Linked DNA regions of Homo sapiens: region 2 is linked to region 1. Evidence: promoter capture Hi-C in 16 types of primary human blood cells and fetal thymus (Javierre and others, 2016). All regions are on one chromosome and are shown on one strand. The core of a region is centred on a gene start or on the middle of the fragment in contact, and the rest is flanking DNA. Distances in the headings are between cores, read along the strand shown.

Region 1 (4,015 bases), core at 1,516-4,015:
CCTATACAGCATGAAATTCTACTGAATACTGGAGGCAATTGTAACATAATAATAAATATTACTGTATCTACACATATTTTAACATTAAAAAATACAATAAAAAGATGGTATTAAAGATAAAAAATGGTACAACTATATAGGGCACTAACCAGGAATGAAGCTTGCCAGACTGGAAGTTGCTCTAAGTGAGTCAGTGAGTGAGTGGTGAGTGAATCTGTACACTATGTAGACTTTATGAACATTGTATGCCTAGACTACACTAAATTTATAAAAGCATTTTTCTTTCATCAATATAAATTAACCTTAGCTTACTGTAGTAACTTTTTTACTTTATAAACTTTTTAATTTAAAACTTTTTTTGACTCTTTTGTAATAACACTTAGGTTAAACACAAACGTTTCACAGAGGTACAAAAATATTTTTTTCTTGATATCCTTATCCTATAAGCTTTCTACTATCTTTAATTTTTTTTATTTTTTAAACTATTTTTTGAGAATGAAGACACAAAACACGAATTAGCCCAGGCCTACACAGGATCAGGATCATCAATATCACTGTTTTCTACCTTCACATCAAGTTCCACTAGAAGGTCTTTCAGGGCAGTAACGCTGATGCAGCTGTCGTTTCCTATGATAATAATGCCTGCATAGGGCAGTAACCATGGAATGCCTTCTGAAGGACCTGCCTGAAGCAGTTTTACAGTTAACTTTTAAAAAAAAGGTACACTCTAAAATAAATGATAAAATGTATAGTAAATGCATAAACAGTCATTTATCACTATTATCAAGAATTATGTACTGTACACAATTGCATGTGCTAGACTTTCGTATGGCAGCACAGTAGGTTTGCTTACACCAGCATCATCACAAACACATGGGTAATGTATTGTACTATGACATTATGTTGGCTACAATGACAATAGCTGATGGGTGCTTATCAGCTCTGTATTAGTTTGTTCTTGCATTGCTATCAAAAATACCTGAGACTGGGTAACTTATAAAGAAAAGAGATTTAATTGGTTCACGGTTCTGCAGGCTATATGAGAACCATGGTGGCACCTTCTTCTGGGGAGGCCTCAGGAAACTTACAATCATGGCGGAAGGCAAAAGAGGAGCCTGCACTTTACATGGCCAGAGCAGGAGAAGAAAGAGAGGGGCTAGGTGCTACACACTTTTAAACATCCAGATCTCATGATAACTCACTCACTCACTATGACAAGAACATCACCGATGGGATGGTGCTAAATGGGCATGAGAAATCCGCCCCCGTGATCCAATCACCTCCCACCAGGCTTCACCTCCAACACTGGGAATGACAGTTCGACATGAGATTTGGGCAGGGACACAGATCCAAACCATATCAAGCTCCATTATAATCATATGGGACCACCATCATATATGTGGTCCATTGTTGACTGAAACATTATACAGTGCCTGACTGTACTTGCTCAATGTCCAGCTGACTTTATTTGAGTCTAGTTGTCAGTCCTTCTCCCTCTGATATTCAAGCTGATGTCACCACACTGTAGAGCAAACTCTTTGGCAACAGTAAGTCACAAGTTGACTTGGCTGGCTCAGTGTATATCCCAGTTTCTCTCCAACTCTGGCTTGGAAGTCTCAGAGCCTCTTGGTTCCTGGAAGTCTCACCTGTCCAGGCTACCTTAAGTAGGGTGGGGATGGTGGGCGATACTGAAAAGATCATTCCTACACACTTATTATTTTAATCTCTCATCACTTTGCAATTATGTACTTCAGACATGGTAGAGTTAATTTATCTTTAGTGAGAGAAAAATATAGTTCTTTACTATAAGAATTTCAGGGTTCTTTATATTAACAGGTTAATTTGACAAAACAGTTATTGCAGACTTACTGTGTTACTGCGTAAAAAGCACTTTATTTGGCTGAGAAAACAAGAAAGAAAATACTATTTGTGGGCAGGGGTGGATCGTTAGACATGTGAAAGAAAGGGAGGATTTGAAATCATTTCCCATTACAGATCTCAATCCATCTCCTCCTTTGTACCTTAAGAGGAGAAAGAAAGGGGGAAAAGAATTTTTAAAAGCAAAGAAGAGGAAGAGGGTAGGAGGACCATTTCAGTCTAACATGCAATTTAATTTTTTCCATTTAACAAGTTTTATGGAGCAGTTACTTTGAACATAATTATACACTGGGAAATGGAGAATGAGTGAACACCAAAGCTTCTCTCTTTGGATTCTTTTCTCTACATGCTCCATGTCCTTCTCACAATACCCCTACTCCACGGCCAGTAAATCCATCTGAAAATCAATAATAGCTATTGTAAACAAGGACTCAAGAAGTGAAATATTTGTTTTAATATCTTTGTAAATAACAACTCCCACATTTAGACCACGACTATATTTGGAATTTATTTCCGTTGACCTACTTAATTCTTACCTGCTTATATTTAAGTTTAAAACATAATCTTCTTAAAAGAAAATTGCACTGATTTTAAAATGTCAAAACATTTGGCATTTTACCAAGCTTGTCAGCTCTCTTTAAGTAAATACAGAGACGTGAATTATCTAGCCAATTCTTTTTCGTCTTTACAAACACAGAAATCATTTCCTGGGGATTAATCATTCTTTCAAGTTTAGAAAGTTGAAGGAAAATACTGATGTAGGCTGTATCACCATTACATTAAATGTTTGTGAACATTCAGACTTAAAAAACACATGCATGAATCATACTGTTGGTGATCTCAGCATTGTCTCTGTATAAAAGAAAGGCCACTAGGGGGTAGAGCTAGAAGCCCAGTAGACAAAGAAGGTAAGGGCAGTGAGAATGATGCATCTTGCATTCCTTGTGCTGTTGTGTCTGCCAGTCTGCTCTGCCTATCCTCTGAGTGGGGCAGCAAAAGAGGAGGACTCCAACAAGGATCTTGCCCAGGTAATTAACGGTGGCATCTATTGCAGCTACTGGCCAGCTCAATTGTGTCTACTTGGTCTTCCAATACAAAGCAGAATGATTAGACTAGAGATCACTTTGTTAGAAAACTGTAGCATCAGAGAATAATTAACAGGCTGGAGGTGGAAATTATTTTTATGTTAACAGAGAAGAAAAGAAAGGTTCAGAAAGGGAATATAACTGCTCAAGGTTACAATAAAATAGTAGCAGTATATTTGTGGCTAAGTGAAAAGAACATATGGAGAATATATGAAACTCCTCTGGCTTTAGAATTTATTTAGTTAAAATTATTGGGGAGGGGAGCATGCTAAGTTTGATCTTTAAATCATATCAGGTAATAGTTTTCATATTTTTACTTGTCATATTTGGACAAAAGAGTTTACCACACTTCAGTCTTAAACCAGGTCTATAATAACAATGTAAGTAGAAAAGGTTAGTATTCTAACTTTTCACAAAACTATGTTAAAAGAGGGTTTCTTTAAAAACTAACAAAAATAATGCTAGACTTGAATTTTCAATCCCCAATTCCTTACTTGACTAGCAAACTAACATTGCAATAAAATTTAAAAATTTGTATGAAATGGGGAGTCTTAATGAAAAATCAAATTAAATGTGATAGCCTCTTTTGTTTTAAGAAACTAGAGGAAAATTACGATGGATTATAAAAGTTGGATAAATGATGGAAAATCACAAAAATGCCCTAAAAATTCTATTTTCCATTAGCAATACCTAGAAAAGTACTACAACCTCGAAAAGGATGTGAAACAGTTTAGAAGAAAGGACAGTAATCTCATTGTTAAAAAAATCCAAGGAATGCAGAAGTTCCTTGGGTTGGAGGTGACAGGGAAGCTAGACACTGACACTCTGGAGGTGATGCGCAAGCCCAGGTGTGGAGTTCCTGACGTTGGTCACTTCAGCTCCTTTCCTGGCATGCCGAAGTGGAGGAAAACCCACCTTACATACAGGTAATGGTTCAGATTAGTTTTCACATAATATTGAAACCTTATAAGTTACTCGTCATATTTGGATAAGTAACATAAAGTTTTCTTTAACAATTTTTCATAAAGGCAGGAGAAAATAACATCCTCTTC
Region 2 (4,420 bases), core at 1,001-3,500, 190 kb before region 1:
ACTACAGGCATCCACCATGACACCCAGCTAATTTTTGAAGTTTTAGTAGAGATGGGGTTTCACAATGTTGGACACACTGGTCTTGAACTCCTGGCCTCAAGTGATCTGCCCATCTTGGCCTCCCAAAGTGCTAGGATTACAGGCATGCACCTTTGCGCCCTGTCCTGGTCTTTTACTTTTAAAAACACTTTCAGGGTTTATAACATTAAAAAAAATCACTGAAATTCAGTAGTTAATGCATTGCAAATAAAAAATATGAGTGCATTATAGAATATCAAATTTACAAACATTTGTTAAATATGTATTATCTTTCTCAATAATTTGTTAAATGTGTATTATCTATCTTTCTACATTTGTTAAATATGTAATATATTTCTTAAAATTACTTGTTAAAAGGTATTATTAAAATAAGAAAAGTATAACATGAAGAAAATGGAATCAGTTATAAAAAATTAAAATAAAATAATATTGTTAGATTATTTTTAAATGCTTATTTTAAAAAACAAATCAATTCAAAGATTTTATTCCTGAGTCATGAAAACTGATAAACTTTCCAGTGCTGAAACAGCTCTTTCTGATTCTATACCAGTTTGGGAACAATTGAGGAGATAGCTATAAGCTGACTCCAGATAGTTTCCTCTGATACTCTGAGCTTAAAATAACACCACTATTTATTTCATAACTTTGAAGACATCTCTATTTATTTATTTTAGTTGAGACTGGGTCTTGCTATGTTGCTGAAGCTGGTCTCAAATTGCTATCTGTGATTACAGGCATAAGCCACCATGCCTGGCACAGGTATCTTTTAAATTAACCTATCCCAGCTGGGATTGCAATTTTTTCACTGTAGTTTTGCTTTCAAAGAAAGTACTTTATGTTCACTTTCGTAGTCTTTAGTTCATCTACAGATGAATATTTAGTACATCGAGTTTTCTGTATTAATTTCAATACTACCATGTTCATGCTTTACATTTTTGGAAAATCTTCTAATCTGCTATCATAATTCAATAAAGTGTCTCCACTAATTGTGTAAGTTTAGTTATGATAAATAATAACAAAGTGCTGACTTATCTTAGTAATTTACATTTTAACATTCATTTCAGATTCTAGTTTTTTGTTTTGTTTTGTTTTGTTTTTATAAAGTCACTCTCACTCCTTTCTAGTATGTTTTCTTAGAGAGAAAGAGGTAGAACGACAGCTGGTGCCCTGTGCAGTTCAAAGACATGTGCACATGTCCCACCACTTGGGACAACAGAAAATAGGTTGAAAATGAATAAGCTTACTTAGATCTCATTGGGAAACTATCTTTGGTCACCAGCGGTTTCTGGGACCCATTTCTTGAGTTAGTGCTTAAGTTCCGAGGGGCTTCATTTTAGTTTTTGGATTGTGATGTGCCTCAAACCCCATCAAGTGACTGGATTTTCTAGAAAATGAGTAATGGTAGAGCAAACAGATTCAAAGTCATTAATTTAATTTGGATATGACAAAATACCCTGGGAGCAAATGAAAATTAACATAAATGTCTCAATTTCTACCAGTTATGCAATGTTCTAACATCTTCAAGCTGAAAGCACTCTGAAGTCAGCACAAACTGACAGGTGTAGGACTTTCCAAAATGTGTAAAGCATTTCCCCCTGGAGGAAGGATGGATCAAATTCTACCCCTTGCTTGATCAGATTCATCAACTTGCATATTTGTACAAGAGGGAGTCCAATCTGCCTAATCATTTCTGTTTGCCAATGTTTTGGAAAGTTGGGAAATAATTTTGGTTTTGAAAAATTTTAACACAAATCCTCAATGATGCTTTACCAGGCAATGACTGAATTCCTACATCTGGATTATATTATCCCATTTGGGATTAGACTAATGATTAAAATGGTCCTGGCAGCAAGGTAATTAGATGGGTTCCCACACTGAGGCAAACTCATAGCAAAGGCCCTTGGGTCATGACTCTTTGGGGGAAATTCTGCCTAGTCTTATAGCCCTGTCTAGTTCTGCACATATCCGTATCTAGGTGTCTGGGACAGACTCACTGAAGTAAATAAGAGTGAAAACACAAGGACAGTGCCTGGCCCGTCAGTGACTTCCTAATAAATGTCACTTCCTTCCTCACCCGTCTCCCTTGCTCCCTTCCTCTTTCTTTTTCTATTCCTCCCCTCCCTCCCTCCTTTGCTCTCTCCCTTCCTCCATTCCTCTCTCCCTCCCTCCTCCCTTCTCTTCCTCCCTGTCTTTCTTCCTTCCATGTCAAGGGACAAATTACAAGCTGCCTGCTGCTAGTCAATTTTACAGATGAAATCCTCAAAAAGGCAAAACTTACATTCTACATTTAAGGACATTAACCAAGGAATGAAGCCTTTGTTTTTACCTATAAAAACTTTTACTTTGGATAAAAGAGTGTGTTATACTTGCTCTGTACTTGAACAAAAAGTAGTGCCAATAAAGTAAGGATAAGAAATGAATCTTGTGCCAACCCCTTTAACCCTATAAAAGCATCTCAGTGAGGCAGATGCCCAAATTATCACCCTCCAAACACTCACCTCCAAATGAAGGTATCTGCAGACCACCGAGTGGCAGAGAAAATTGCCTTTGTGCTCTGGAATCTCATTGTCTGCTGGCTGCTACCAGTTCCCTTATGTACTTCTAGAGAATGAGATATCCTAACCAATGTGGAGTGAAATTCCATCTTGCAGAGGTAACAGGTCCTTCCTGTTGGTGTTTCCCTAATTGAGCATGTAGTTTTTTCATTTAACGGTGATGATTGTGTGCTATCTTTCTAGCATATTTGAAAGCCTTTTATCAACTTCCTTTGAGATCAACACAGAGGAGAGGAGAAACTCCAAGCTCCTGCAGAACAGACCCCAGCATATGGCAGGCCTTCTTTGGTCTAGAATCAAATGGCCAACTGGATGCTGAAACTTTAGCCCTGGTGACGCAGCCAAAGTGTGAAACTCCTGACGCAGTGGAGTATAATTTTTTTCCCTAAGAAAATGAAGCAGCTAACTGGTATCCTGACACACAGGTGAACGTGTCGCTCATAATTTTTTCTCTATGCAATGTGTAATGTTGCTATAGCTGGCAGGGTTCACTTTTGCAGATCACATCTTTACGTGTTAAGAAGTAGTTTGGGATAATACAGAGTATTCTGGGCTATCCTAGCCAGGTGGCTAAGGCTCTAATTCCAGCACCAAGTTTATCACTTTGTGCAATTTTAAGGAAGCTTCTCAATGTCTTTGAACTGTTTTTCAATGTAATATAAAGGAATTAAGCTTGATGATCTCTGGAGGTGTTTGGAGGATCTACAAGTCTATATCATCCTCAAATCACTTCTGCGTATTCCATATCAGGCTTTATCTCTCTTACTTGAATCCTCAGTTACTAAGTCATTTCTAGGTGGCTTAAAATACCCTTTAAATTTCTTTGTATCCTCTTTTATTTCACTGAGCAGTGGTTTGGTTTGTAGTTCTCCTTGAAGAGGTCCTTCACATCCCTTGTAAGTTGGATTCCTAGAAATTTTATTCTCTTTGAAGCAATTGTGAATGGGAGTTCACTCATGATTTGGCTCTCTCTTTGTCTGTTATTGGTATATAAGAATGCTTGTGATTTTTGCACATTGATTTTGTATCCTGAGACTTTGCTGAAGTTGCCTATCAGCTTAAGGAGATTTTTGGCTGAGACGATGGGGTTTTCTAGATATACAATCATGTCATCTGCAAACAGGGACAATTTGACTTCCTCTTTTCCTAATTGAATACCCTTTATTTCCTTCTCCTGCCTGATTGCCCTGGCCAGAACTTCCAACACTATGTTGAATAGGAGTGGTGAGAGAGGGCATCCCTGTCTTGTGCCAGTTTTCAAAGGGAATGCTTCCAGTTTTTGTCCATTCAGTATGATATTGGCTGTGGGTTTGTCATAGATAACTCTTATTATTTTAAGATACGTCCCATCAATACCTAATTTATTGAGAGTTTTTAGCATGAAGGGTTGTTGAATTTTGTCAAAGGCCTTTTCTGCATCTATTGAGATAATCATGTGGTTTTTGTCTTTGGTTCTGTTTATATGCTGGATTACATGAATCAATATGGTGAAAATGGCCATACTGCCCCAAGGTAATTTATAGATTCAATGCCATCCCCATCAAGCTACCAATGACTTTCTTCACAGAATTGGAAAAAACTACCGTAAAGTTCATATGGAACCAAAAGAGACCCCACATTGCCAAGTCAATCTAAGCCAAAATAACAAAGCTGGAGGCATCACGCTACCTGACTTCAAACTATACTACAAGGCTACAGTAACCAAAACAGTGTGGTACTCGTACCAAAACAGAGATATAGACCAATGGAACAGAACAGAGCCCTCAGAAATAATGCCGCATATCTACAACTATCTGATCTTTGACAAACCTGACAAAAACAAGAAA

The links. Contacts are between HindIII fragments. The CHiCAGO score rates a contact against its expected background, and 5 or more counts as called.
Region 2: a fragment that was not itself captured here is called in contact with the fragment with the promoter of MMP10 in region 1 in 1 of 17 cell types (endothelial precursors); the score reaches 5.1 in endothelial precursors.

What each region holds. Positions count from the first base shown.
Region 1 is chr11:102,779,378-102,783,392 of GRCh38, reverse strand. It overlaps MMP10 (matrix metallopeptidase 10), which reads left to right and starts at 2,765. Exons shown (of 10, transcript NM_002425.3): 1 at 2,765-2,906; 2 at 3,648-3,889. The coding sequence starts at 2,802. The HindIII fragment of the contact is 1,913 bases long and covers 2,504-4,015 here.
Region 2 is chr11:102,969,339-102,973,758 of GRCh38, reverse strand. No RefSeq gene overlaps it. Among named protein-coding and RNA genes, the nearest start is that of MMP13, 16 kb to the right of the region's middle. The HindIII fragment of the contact is 1,939 bases long and covers 1,281-3,219 here.